2 separate regions of the Homo sapiens genome follow, and region 1 is linked to region 2. Evidence: promoter capture Hi-C in 16 types of primary human blood cells and fetal thymus (Javierre and others, 2016). All regions are on one chromosome and are shown on one strand. The core of a region is centred on a gene start or on the middle of the fragment in contact, and the rest is flanking DNA. Distances in the headings are between cores, read along the strand shown. Region 1 overlaps COMT (catechol-O-methyltransferase). Region 2 holds the start of RTN4R (reticulon 4 receptor).

Region 1 (6,360 bases), core at 3,383-5,882, 310 kb before region 2:
GGAGATAACACGGATCGCTGTGTACACTGTGTGCTCCGGTTGTTGCATCCGAGGGTTGATCGGATGGTGGTTCCCATCCAGATCCAAGTCCTGGCCCCTGATCACAGAGAAACACAGCTGGACATTAAAGTGGTGAGGACGGAAATTATAATATTTGGTGACCAGTGACAGGAGGGGAGAGAGCCGAGCTCCGCTCCGAGTTGTGCAAAGAAGTGGGGAGTGGGGAGGAAGAACAGTGGGGACTCAGTGGAGTGAGGAAAGTGGAAAATTACCAAAAGCAGGAAGGGAGGGTTAGCCTTGGGAAACCAATCTGGGTTTGCCACGGGGGCTTACTGAAGTCAGGCCCCCAGTCCCACAGAGGCTGGGAGACAGGGGCCCCATCTTCAGGTGTTGGCCAGAACACAGGAAATTCTCTTGGTAGCCATGACTTTCTCAGGCAGGCGCTTTGAAGGGGGCTGGGATCATTTTAGGAATGTGGCCTTGAGCTGTTAGAAGCCATGTGCAGTATGGCTTACACCTGTAATCCCAGCACTTTGGGAGGCTGAGGCTGGAGAATCACTTGAGGCCAGGAGTTTAAGACCAGCCTGGGCAACATAGCAAGACGCTGTCTCTACAAAAATAATTTTTAAAAAATTAGCCAGGCACTGCGGCATGCCCCTGTGTAGTCCCAGTTACTCAGGAGGCTGAAGCAGGAGGACTGCTGGAGCCCAAGAGTTCAAGGTTGCAGCAAGCTGATTGCACCACTGCACTCCAGCCTGGGCGGCAGAGGTGATCACGCCACTGCACTCCCGCCTGGGCGACAGAGCAAGACCCTGTCTTTAAAAACAAAAAGGCCAGGCAGGTGCGGTGGCTCATGCCTGTAATCCCAGCACTTTGGGAGGCCAAGGCGGGCGGATCATGAGGTCAGGAGATCGAGACCATCCTGGCTAACATGGTGAAACCCCGTCTCTACCAAAAACACAAAAAAGTTAGCCGGGCGTGGTGGCGGGCGCCTGTAGTCCCAGCTACTGGGAGGCTGAGGCAGGAGAATGCCATGAACCCGGGGGATGGAGCTTGCAGTGAGCCGAGATTGCGCCACTGCACTCTAGCCTGGGAGACAGAGCAAGACTCCGTCTCAAAACAAAACAAAACAACAACAAAAAAAAAACAGCCGAGCGCAGTGGCTCACGCCTGTAATCCCAGCACTTTGGGAGGCCGAGGTGGGCAGATCACAAGGTCAGGAGTTCAAGACCAGCCTGACCAACATGGTGAAACCTTGTCTCTACTAAAAATACAAAAATTAGCTAGGCGTGGTGGTGTGAGCCTATAATCCCAGCTACTCAGGAGGCTGAGGCAGGAGAATCGCTTGAACCCAGGAGGCGGAGGTTGCAGTGAGCCGAGATCGCGCCACTGCACTCCAGTCTGTGTGACAGAGTGACAGCCCGTCTCAAAAAATAAATAAATAAATAAATAAATAAATAAATAAATAAATAAATAAATAAATAAAATGAAGCAGCAGCAGCTTTGTTAGTGTTTGTTCAAGGCCTGATAGGCCAAGGTGAGGCTCAGCCGAGAAACGTGCTCAGAGGAGCCTGGCCGGAGTGTGATGGGGGAGTCTTTGTCCAGGCTGCTGCCACGGTGGGCCTCAGGACTCATGGCCTGGGCGCTGGGGGTGGGGCTGCCACTCAGCCTTGAGGAGAGCAATGAGGAGGTCAGATTCCACTCACATCCAGTGCGGTCTGGATGCAGGCCTGGCCCAGAGCCTGGTCCAGATGCTGGGGCTTTGTTTTTTTGTTGTTGTTTTTTTGAGACAGAGTCTCGCTCTGTTGCCCAGGCTGGAGTGCAGTGGCACTATCTCCACTCACTGCAACAACCTCCACCTCCACGGTTCAAGCGATTCTCCTGCCTCAGCCTCCCGAGTAGCTGGGACTACAGGCACCCGCCACCATGCCCGGCTCATTTTTTGCATTTTTAGTGGAAACAGAGTTTCACCATGTTGGCCAGGATGGTCTCCAACTCCAGACCTTGTGATCTGCCTGCCTCAGCCTCCCAAAGTGCTGGGATTACAGGCGTGAGCCACTGCACCCAGCCGGCTTTGTTTACAGTACTCAGCAGCTGCCAAAATAGTCCCCATTCCCAGGCAGGGCAGGCTCCCGGGCTCAGTCCAGCGGGGCAGATGGCCAGCCTGCACGTCACCCCACTAGGCATGTCCAGGCCCTTTCTGCCCCTCCCTAAAGGCACCCCTGTCCTTTCTGTCCCCTCCACACTGAGCCAAGCCAGCCTCCACTCTTGCCCCAGGCCTGCCCTCTGCTGGGAGCCGGGACACTGAGCTCCTGCCACATGAGCAGGTTGACCTGCAGGGGGCCTCCAAGCAGGTGCCAAGGCAGAATCGGATGTGACCAGGAGAACACCCTTGAAGGATAAAGCGAATGTGCGACCACCATGCAGGTCTGGCCCATGGAAGGGAGGGGAGGGGGCCCCGACGGGGCCACAGTAAAGGAGTGGAGGGGCCCCACAGGCAGGGATGGCCCAGCTGGCCCCCTGGGGCTGTGAATCTGCAGGTGCAGTGCAGCCTCTTGCCTCTCTCAGCCCAGCCCTTGCATCTGCCTCTTGGTGTGTCTGTGAAGACAAAGTCACCGTGGTCCCTGCAGCACCTGGCTTGAAGCAGGTGTGCAGTCCGTGTGAAAGCCTTCCCTTTAGCTATTAGGTATTGAGTCAAAAAAAAAAAAAGCCTTCCCCTGAGCCTGGGGGCCTGGCCCCACTGAGGATACCAGGCGGGGGAGGCTACAGGAGGCTGCCCTCTGCCTGGCCATCTGACCTTCCATTCTGACCCCTTCCCTTCCACACCAGCCCCTTTCCCTATGTAGGGTGCAGTCTTTGTTGCAACTGCTCACCTCTGCCATGGTCGGATGAGAGCAGCCACGGACAATGTCTGTGCAATTGTGCGTTTTTTGTTTTGTTTTGTTTTGAGATGGAGTCCCACTCTTGTTGCCCAGGCTGGAGTGTAATGGCACCATCTCGGCTCACTGCAACCTCCACCTCCCGAGTTCTAGCGATTCTCCTGCCTCAGCCTCCCAAGTAGCTGGGATTACAGGCATGCATCACCATGTCTGGCTAATTGTGTATTTTTAATAGAGACTGGGGTTTCACCATGTTGGTCAGGCTGTTCTTGAACTCCTGACCTCAGGTGATCCACCCGCCTCAGCCTCCCAAAATGCTGGGATTACAGACGTGAGCCACCGTGCCTGGTTGATTGTGCGTTCTGATAAAGCTTCATTTACAGAAATAGCAGGTAGGCCCCTCGCAGGGTGCCCAGAGCAGGTGCACTGTCTCACCTCTTCTCAGGTGTCACCGGGGTGAGAGGCTAGTCCTCTGCCTCCTCCTTCCTCTCTGCAGGTTGGAGAAATGACAGCTTCTTGTACTGGGGGTTATGAGACAGTGGCAGGAGGGGGACACTCCCAGAGTGCTGCCAGAAAGAGGCGAGGCCCCATCTGGATTTGATGGCATTTTTATTGTGGTGTTGTTTTAGAGACAGTGTCTGTCGCCCAGGATGGACGACATGGTGCAATCATGGCTCACTCCAGCCTCCAACTCCTGGGCCCAAGCAATCCTCCCACTTCAGCCTCCTGAGTAGCTGCAGCTATAGGCACACCACCATGCCTGGCTCAATGGGTATTTTGTGGCCATTAAACTTCTGGTCATTCCTTTAGATTCCCAGAGGCTGGATGGAGGTGAGTGGCCAGCCCCTGGGTCCAGAGATGAGCGCGGGGCCTGGCTGCAGCCTGTGGGGTCTCCCAGGCTGGCCTCCAGGTGTCCTCTCAGCCTGTCCACAGGCGCTGCCCAAGCGTGTGGCCTACCTGGTGCTGCCTGGCCTGTCTCTACGCACCTGTACTGGCTCTCCCTGGATTACTGGATCGCAGTCGAATCCCCTGCCAGAATCCTGGTCCCCCTTTATCACACCGGATCAGCCCCAAAGGGCAGGGCTTCTTGCAGCAGTTCCAGCCTTTGCTGGGGGTTTCCAGCCCTGTTGAGCAAGCCCCAGGTAGGGCCCTCTGCAGCCCCCGTGGGGGACCTGTGTGCCGAGCAGAGCTGCCCCGTGTGTAAACGCTTAGAACTGGCCTCCTTCCTGCCATCTGTGTCCTGTTTGTCATCACGCCTGTGGCTCTATGCTTGTCTCCCCGACTGGGCCACCAGCCCTGTGAGGGCAGGATGAGGCACGTCCAAGCCACAGTGGCTCTCAGTGTGCAGGGTGCTGTTAGCATTGGTTCTGTGTTCTGGAATAGTGAGAACAGTGTGCCCCAAATGGCCAGTGGCCTTTCCGAGGGTCACTGCAGCCGCATGTTGGCCCTCTGTGGAGAACGGAGGATGCACAGCCATTTCAGAGCACAACCTGAGGTCTCCTGAGCTTGCTGTGCAGCCCAGTCTTTCTCTCCGTGGCCCCTGGTAGCTGTCTTTCTCCCAGGAGGAGGAGAAAGACACCTTCCTGAGCAGGAGGATGTGGGTGAATAGAGACCAAAGTGTCAATCACTCTTCTGACAGAGGTGATAGCAGAATGAAAAACTGATGGACCCCAGATCTTTGCAAAGAGAACAAAGTCAGTTTCTAGTTATCTTTCTTTCTTTTTTTTCTTTTTTTCTTTTTTTTTTTTTTTTTTTTTTTTTGAGATGGAGTCTCGCTCTGCTGCCCAGGCTGGAGTGCAGTGGTGTGATCTCAGCTCACTGCAACCGCCTCCCGGGTTCAAGTGATTCTCCTGCCTCAGCCTCCTGAGTAACCAGGACTACAGGCACACACCACCACGCCCAGCTAATTTTTGTTATTTTTAGCAGAGACAGGGTTTCACCATGTTGGCCAGGATGGTCTTGAGCTCTCTTTTTTTTTTTTTTTTTTTTTTTTGAGACGGAGTCTCGCTCTGTCACCCAGGCTGGAGTGCAATGGAGTGATCTTAGCTCCCTGCAACCTCTGCCTCCCAGGTTCAGGCTATTCTCCTGCCTCAGCCTCCTGAGTAGCTGGGACTAACAGGTGCTTGCCACCAAGCCTGGCTAATTTTTGTATTTTTAGTAGAGACAGGGTTTCACCATATTGGCCAGGCTGATCTCGAAATCCTGACCTTGTGGTCTGCCCGCCTTGGCCTCCCAAAGTGCTGGGATTACAGGCGTAAGCCACCACACCAGGCCCATTTTCTAGTTATCTTTTACGGATTTTTTAAAATGAGCCTAGAAACCAGGTCATATAATTAGTTTATTTTTTAATTTCTTATAGAGACAGGGTCTTACTATGTTGCCCAGAGTGGTCCTGAACGCCTGGGCTCAAGTGATCCTCCTGCCTCAGCCTCCCAAAGTATTGGGATTACAGGTGTGGCCACTGTTCCAGCCATAGTTCATATTTTAAAGGATTTTTAAGAGTCTCATTTCACTGATGTTACTTGCAGTATATTTATGGAAAACATTCCTGTCTTTTTTTTTTTTTTGAGACGGAGTCTCACTCTGTTACCCAGGCTGGAGTGCAGTGGCGTGATCTCGGCTCACTGCAAGCTCCGCCTCTGGGGTTCACGCCATTCTCCTGCCTCAGCCTCCCGAGTAGCTGGGACTACAGGTGCCTGCCACCACACCCGGCCAATTTTTTGTATTTTTAGTAGAGACAGGGTTTCACTGTGTTAGCCAGGATGGTCTCGATCTCCTGACCTCGTGATCTGCCCGCCCCGGCCTCCCAAAGTGCTGGGATTACAGGCATGAGCCACCGCGCCCGGCCAGCATTCCTGTCTTTTAAAGAAAGATGAGACCAGATGCAGTGGTGTGCACCTGTGGTCCCAGCTACTCAGGAGGATGCCTTGAGCCTGGGAGTTCAAGGCTGCAGCTGCAGTGAGCCTTGATCACGCCACTGCACTCCAGCCTGGGCAATTGAACAGGACCCTGTCTCTAAAGAAATAAAATAAAGGCAGATGAATGTCATCTAGGGTGTGTCCAATGTGAGAGAGAATACTGACCAGGTGACAGAGGTGATGGACTCTCTAGCTCTGCAGCAGACTGCTGGGCAGAGAAGCTTGGGCAGGCCTGGCACTGAGGCCCAGAAGCTTCATGCTCTTTAGAGCCAGAGGTGTCAAGCCCAGCTGCCTGTGTCCTGGCCGCACTGTGAGGCACTGAGGATGCCCTCACACGTGCATCTGCATGTGGCGTGCATGTGGCAAGCATGTGCAGGTGCTGTGTGGGCACGATCATGCCTGCCCTCTACTGTGCTGGAGAGGTAAGACCATCAGCCGTTTCACAGAGGAGGGAATGTGGACCTCACGGGGGTCTCATGAGCTTGCGAGCCGATGGCCAGGCAGCCGGTGCAGAAGGTTCATCCATTTTGATGAACCGTGAATTCATCTGTACTTTATTCATT
Region 2 (6,348 bases), core at 1,351-3,850:
TGGATGGGGTGAGGGGCCAGCTGGCAGTGCAAAGGTCCCAGGAGGACTCTGCTGAGTGGGGGTGTGGGGAGGTGTTGTGGGCATTCTGAGGCAGAAGCACCAGAGTCAGAACTCCACAGGGAAAGCCGGGCCAATTCCGCCCAGCCTCAGCCTGGAAGTGCCCCGATAATCCCTGACCACTGGCCCATGGTGCAGGTGAGGAAGACTGAGGCAGAGAGGCGACCTGTCACACCCAAGGTCACACCGCCAGCAGGTGGCTGAGCCAGGACCCAAATCCAGGTCACGGTTCTGCCACGGCAGGCCCTGCACGTGCCCCTCTGCCAGGTGGCGTCTAGGTGCTGATGGCCACCCATTCCCACCCCCGGCATGGGAGCTCACTTCCTCCTCACCTCAGTAGAGAAGAACAGGGAACAGTACCCCCTTTATAGATGGGAAGACTGAGGCTTAGAAAAAGAGACTGGCCAGCCCCACTGCTTCAGCTGCCCCTCTGCTAGTATGTTTCACCCTCACACAACCTACAAGGATAACCTGCTGGTCCCCACTCTATAGATGAGCCTCTGGTGGTGGCCAGGGGAGCAGGAGGTGTGGCCTGCCAATCCAAGCCCCAGCCCAGGGCCCTTGCCACAGTGCTAGTGGGCCACCCTTGCCCATCATGCAGCATGGCATCCATCTGCTCAGCACCCTACACAACACCGGAGGTAGGGGAGCCCACCACAGAACCCCTCACCAAGAAGGTCCTCACCATGGAGAAACTGAGGCACTGGAGGCGGGGCCTCTGCAGTCACGCTGGGTCACGTGCTCCAGTCAGCCAAGCTGCAGCGGCCACCAAGGGTGCCCAGGGTCTGGCCTGTTGGTCACAGTGTTGACCTCATGGCCTGAAATGGGTCTTCCCTGCCCAGACAGGTTCCAGCCCACCATCATCTATCTGCCTCAGCCCTGGTGGGTAGGGAGTGGCTGGGAGACCCTGCCCCTCACACCCTGGGCTTTGCGGTATTCAACGAGCCCCCAACACACATTCCAGGGCCTCTGCTCCAGATTAGGCCACAGCCTGTCTAGGCACACAAGGGGCACCCACACCCTGGAGGCAAAGAGACATGCCTATGTGCCCGCAGGCACACATGATCACGCGCACAGACACACGTGCAGATGCATACCAAGTTACACACACGCACACAAGCCCGAGGCGGGGACCCCCAGGACACGGAGGCAGGCAGGCAGAGGTGGGGCCCAGGATGTCTTGCCCCTGTCTGTGGGCCTGGCCTCCCCACTCAACAGACGAGCATGTGGGTGCGGGAGTGGTTATTGCGAAAGGGGCCCCAGCATGTGCCACCCGTGGAGACCACAGCAGGCATGCCGCGTGCATGCATGTGTGGCCGTGGGTGTGCAGGCGGGGGCGAGGACACAGATATGCACCCTCAGAGTCCGTGTGTGCACCCAGTGTTTGTGCATGTGCACACTGGGGCGGCGTTGGCTTGCATGTGCACCAGAGGTGTGCAAGTGTGCAGTCCGTGTAGACAAGTGCACGTGCAAGGAAACGTGTGTGCAGCCTGCGGCACCATGGACATCAGCAGGGCAGCCTGGGTGGGCACCTGGGGAGCACCCTCCAGGCGGGGCATGCCCAACTCACATGGAGCCCACCCTCCCTTGCCCGCACCGCGGGACCTCACAGCCGGTGGGGCGGGGGAGTCCCACGAGGGCTGCTAGGGAGGGGTTGCTGATTGCCCCACCGCCCCTGATTCCCCCAGCCAAGCCTCTCAATGTCCCTCGGGCTGCAGATGGCGGGCGTTGCTGCCTCCTCTCACCGCCCGCCCTGGAGGCAGCGCTGGGACAACCCTGTCCCCCACGCCCTCTACTGCCGCCAACGCCCCCATTCATCCCACTGTGGACTGACCTCGGAGAAACGGGAGGTTCTGAGCCCAGACCGTGAGGCTGGGGTGGAGGCGGCCCGACACCCCCACCCACCCTCGGTACCCACGTTTCTGCAAAAACCCGCTCGTTAACCCCTTGGTGGCCGGGGCGCTCCGAGGCCGGGCCCCGCCCTTCCAGCCCACGGCCCCCGCCCTCGACTTGGCCCAGCATCGGGGACCCTCGGACCGCCACCCTCGGCCCTGCCGAAGCCGTCAACTTTCCCGGGAAGCGGCAACTTTTCCTGCCGCCTCCGGCTCCGCCCTCCCGGGGCCGGGGCGCCAGCGGCCCCAGCCTGGCGCGGCACTGCGGTGGCTTTCCCTGCCGCCCGGCTACGCTTCCCTCGCCTCGGCAGCCCGGGACGGGCCCTGCGGCTCCGGGGAGGGGGCGAGCCGCCCCCCTCCGCGCCCCGCCGCCGGCCGGGCTCGGGTGCAGCGCGGACACTCACCTCCAGCGGACGCCCTCTTCATCGTAGGGGTTGGGCGGGGCGCGTCGGGGACTGAAAGTCGTTTCGGGGCGGGCGCCCGTCTCCCCGCGGCCGGGTCCGCATCCAGGCGCCGCCGCTACGGCCCGGCCCCGGCCCGGCCGCGGGACGAGGCTCGGCGCGCTCCGCTCCGCCCGGCTCTGGCTGGGCTCGGGCCGCGGGTGCGCAGGGCGCGCAGGGCGCACAGGGCGAGGGCGGCGGCGGCGCGGGGGTTGGGGCGTGGGCGGCGCGGCGGGCCGGGGCGCGCAGGCCGGGCCGCAGGAGGCGCTCAGCCCGCCCGGTGCACCGGCGCCGCGCGGTCCCAGACAAAGGCGGCGCATTCCTGAAGAGGCGGCGGCCCCTGCAGGCGGCGGAGGGGATGGCGGCCCGGGCCGGAGCCGGCCGGGGACGCGGGCCCGAGGGTGTGGCGGCCTAGGCTGGCCCGGTCCCCAAGCGGGCAAGGGCTTTGTCCCGAGGCCTAGGAATGGCCTCTGCCTGACCCACTCCCTTCCTGGCCTCACGAAACCCATGAATCCCCCGCCCCCTGCACAGAAGCCCCTTGCTGCAGCACGATCGCCCCCATTTTTCAGTAAGAAACAGGCTCAGGGCTTAAGAGAGTTCTGGGGGCCCTCCTGGGCCTTTGTGGCCCTCTCTGCACCATCCTAGAGAAGGGACCTAGGCCTGATGTTACCCGTAACCCTGCAGGGGTCCCCCACCTCTTCCCTTCTGCGGAATGGGGGCTCCAAACCCAGAAGACGCTCTCCGAGGTCACCTGCTTAGTATCCCCCCACTCTACCAAGCCAGCCCCCCACGGGCGGTGTGAGGCATGGGGCCAGAGAATCCAGTGACGCCCCTGCACACACCACACAGGGGTGCAGGTGTCCCTTCTCAATCTTCTGCTCGGGGCACCTACCGGGCCTCACCGATGAGCTCCTAAGTGCATCCCGGGGTCTTCAGACAACTGCCAGGCTGCCCCTGCACCTGGAGAAGTGCTGGGAGTCAGCTCAGCCGGGCTGGGTCCTCCCCAGGCCCACCCTGCATGAGAGGACCATGCAGATGAGGGTCTTGCAGGCCCACCTGGTGTCAGTCTGTAGGACCCTGACTCAAGGACGGAGTGGGCCAGCCTGATGCCTTGATGGCCCCCCTCAGAGCCCAGGTCCACTGATATGAAGCAGAGAGACCTGGTGACTGGGCACCCCTGTGCCCTCTGCCTGCCCCTGGCCATGGAGGTGGCCCTGAGGGAGATGAGCAGGGCGCAGGGCCGGTGACCTGCCTGCCTTGTGCAGAGGAAGTGAGGACCTCCCAGAGCCCTGGTGCTCCCATCTGATCCCAGTGGCAGGCAGCTTCGCAGGGTGGAGCCATGCTGGGTGGGCCCTCTGCCTGGTGTGGAGGCTGCACTGCCCACATGCCTCTGGCTGCCGCTCTGTGGCCCTCATCACTTTGGCCTGCTTTATCCCTATCACCCTTGTCCCAGCCTAGGCTTATGAGGGCATTGTGGAGTGCATGCCATTCCCAGCCACACAGAAGGTGAGGTGGGGCCCAGACACCCCCAGCCACTCTGTCCCCTGGCCTCCTGAAGGGGTGGGCTGTGCACACACTGCCACCTCCCCAGAGGGTGCTGGCTGCCGAGTGCCACCAGCTCAGCCCCTGAGGTGGCTCAACAGGTCCTCCCAGAGCCACACCAAGACGTCATCACCCATTGCACAGATAGGGAACCTCAGGCGAAGCTCACAGAGCCAGTGGGAGGCTGAGGCCTGACCCCCAGACAAGCATTCTTCTCCAGGGTCCCTGCACACAGCAGCCCCCAGGCTAGGAACTGAGCTCTCTCCACAGGGATGTATCAGACCCTAGATGAGTCACGTGGCACTGACCATCAGTCTGAGGACAGCGCTGGGGTGGACCAGGCTCCAGTCTCGGGCTGCTCTGTGCTTGCAGAAAGGCCTTGAGAGGACACTTGCTTGCTTACTCCGCAGGCGTCTCTTCAATTACCAGTGACCCAGAGCAGCCCACTATAGCTGAAGATTGTGACCCCACACCCTATCTCATAGGTTTAAAGCCCCTCCCACCCCTCCTGCCGCAGCCGAAGTGACCATTCTGGGGCATGGGATGGGCATGGGGTGAAATGGGGAGCAGGGGTGGCCCTGGAGGCTTCTGGCACCAGCACCCTCTCCAGCCACCAACCTGGCTGTTCCCGGTTGCTCTGCGCTGGGACCTGGGCCTCCACCTCCCCACAGGTCTCTGCATGGGAGCAGGGCTGAGGCCTGCAGAGGGAGCGCTGGGGGATGGGCTGGTTTCCTGTGTCCGCCACCTCGGTCAGCACGTTGGCCAGCACCCTCCCCACTGGAAGCTGGGCCCACTCCTGGGTGCTAGCTGGGATGGTTAGGCGTCGGCCAGCGCTGATAGGGAGTTATGGGGGTGCAGAGGCAGAGTTGAGCAGGGCTAGGCAGCCGGTGGGTCTGCTACCAGCAAGGCACAGCCCACTTCTCAGGCTGCGCATGTGGGAGGGTTTGGTAAGCCACATTTTTCAGGGTGTAGCCGGGTGAGGGGTAGCATGGGGAGTGGTGTACTCTTTGGGCAGGCGACCACGGAGCCATCACCCCCCAGGGCCCAACGGGCAAGAAGGGGAGCAGCTGACGGCTGGTGAGGGGCTAGCAGGGAGGGCTTGACAAGGGCTGGAGCCCCTGGTCAAGGGGCACAACCAGTTCTATCGGGTCACCTTGTGGGAGGAGCCAGGGACCCTGTGGGCAGAGCCTGGCCGTCTGCTGCCCGGAGTCTACACCAGTCAGTTCCTAGGAAGCCCCATCAGGGGTGCTGGGAGGACAGGCCATCTGTGCCCAGCTGATGCAAGCTCCCAGGCTTTCTGGACACGTGGCCCTGGGGATCAGGAGTGAGCTGGAGACTGCAGACAGCTGTGCCCTCAGGGCCACACAGACCTGTCACACCCTGCCTGGACTGGGTCAGCAGGGCCACACGGGCATCTGCCCGAATCGTTCCCCACCTCACACCCACCATGTGGGGCACATTCTTTGCCAGCTTCCCCAGCCCACCACCCCTCTACAGTGAGGCCAGGGGCTGTCTCACCTCCCACCCACACCCACACCCAAAATGTGGGGCTCAGCCTCCACGACCAGCATGCCGGTCATGAGGGCCCTGCCCAGCTGTGTGACCTCAGCCCAGTCCCTTGGCCTCGCTGAGCTTGCACAGCATGTGGACGAGGCAGACGCTAATGCCTCAGGTCCTGGTCAGCTGGTCACCATCCCTCCTTTGTTCACCTCGCCTGTCCCCTGAGAGGATCATGCAGGGTTTTCACTCAAAACTCCAGGACTGCCCATAGAAGCCAGCTTGAGATGAGGGGAACTTTCGCGGTGGCCTGTCTTGGGCTGACAGGGACACGGTTCAGCCTCCTTGGAAGGTCACTGCTTCCCAGGGCTTGGGAAGACTCATCTCCTGCCTGGAGAGATAGGCGTGCCATGGCTTTCCTTGGCATGCCTGTGCGGTACTCACGGACATCCAGGCCCTCAGTGTCTCCTGGGGAGGGATGGGGCAGCAAGGAAACTGGGTCTTTGCTCCACACATTCTGGGCCACTCCAGGCCAATGCAAGGAGAGACCAAGAAGGAAGCTAGAAGGTCATGTGGCAAGCACATGCCTGCTGCCCAAGTGTGTCAATGTGACTGACCTTCCCTGCACTCTGAGTGGGCGGCTGGGGATGTGGTCCCAGTGCCAGGGAGCTGGGGGGTGTTGGCCTGCCATCTGCTCTCACCATGGAGGGCGGCTGCATGCCCAAGGCCTAAGAGGACTCTGTGCCAGGCCTGCTGAGTGAGTCATCCCATTCAATCCTACAGTGTAGACACTACTACCACTACCCATTTTCCAGACCAGAGAAGGAGGTCTGGGGAGCTTAGGTGGACCCACATCTTGGCAGCCCCTTTCTGCCCTCTCTTTGTCCACAGCCTCCGCCTCCTCCAGAAGCCTCTCACCA

What was found. The method cuts DNA at HindIII sites, captures the fragments that hold promoters and counts their contacts. A CHiCAGO score of 5 or more calls a contact.
Region 1: a fragment that was not itself captured here is called in contact with the fragment with the promoter of RTN4R in region 2 in 3 of 17 cell types (neutrophils, total B cells and naive B cells); the score reaches 8.1 in neutrophils.

What each region holds. Positions count from the first base shown.
Region 1 is chr22:19,951,523-19,957,882 of GRCh38, forward strand. The region is part of intron 1 of COMT (catechol-O-methyltransferase); the gene reads left to right. Among named protein-coding and RNA genes, the nearest start is that of MIR4761, 9.0 kb to the right of the region's middle. RefSeq lists enhancers at 124-418, 1,742-2,365, 2,366-2,987, 3,252-3,903 and a silencer at 4,206-4,373. The HindIII fragment of the contact is 2,768 bases long and covers 3,249-6,016 here.
Region 2 is chr22:20,265,718-20,272,065 of GRCh38, forward strand. RTN4R (reticulon 4 receptor) reads right to left here and starts at 2,601. Exons shown (of 2, transcript NM_023004.6): 1 at 2,354-2,601. The coding sequence starts at 2,375. RefSeq lists an enhancer at 1,445-2,133 and silencers at 2,345-2,504, 2,595-2,754, 2,805-2,864. The HindIII fragment of the contact is 20,492 bases long and covers 1-6,348 here.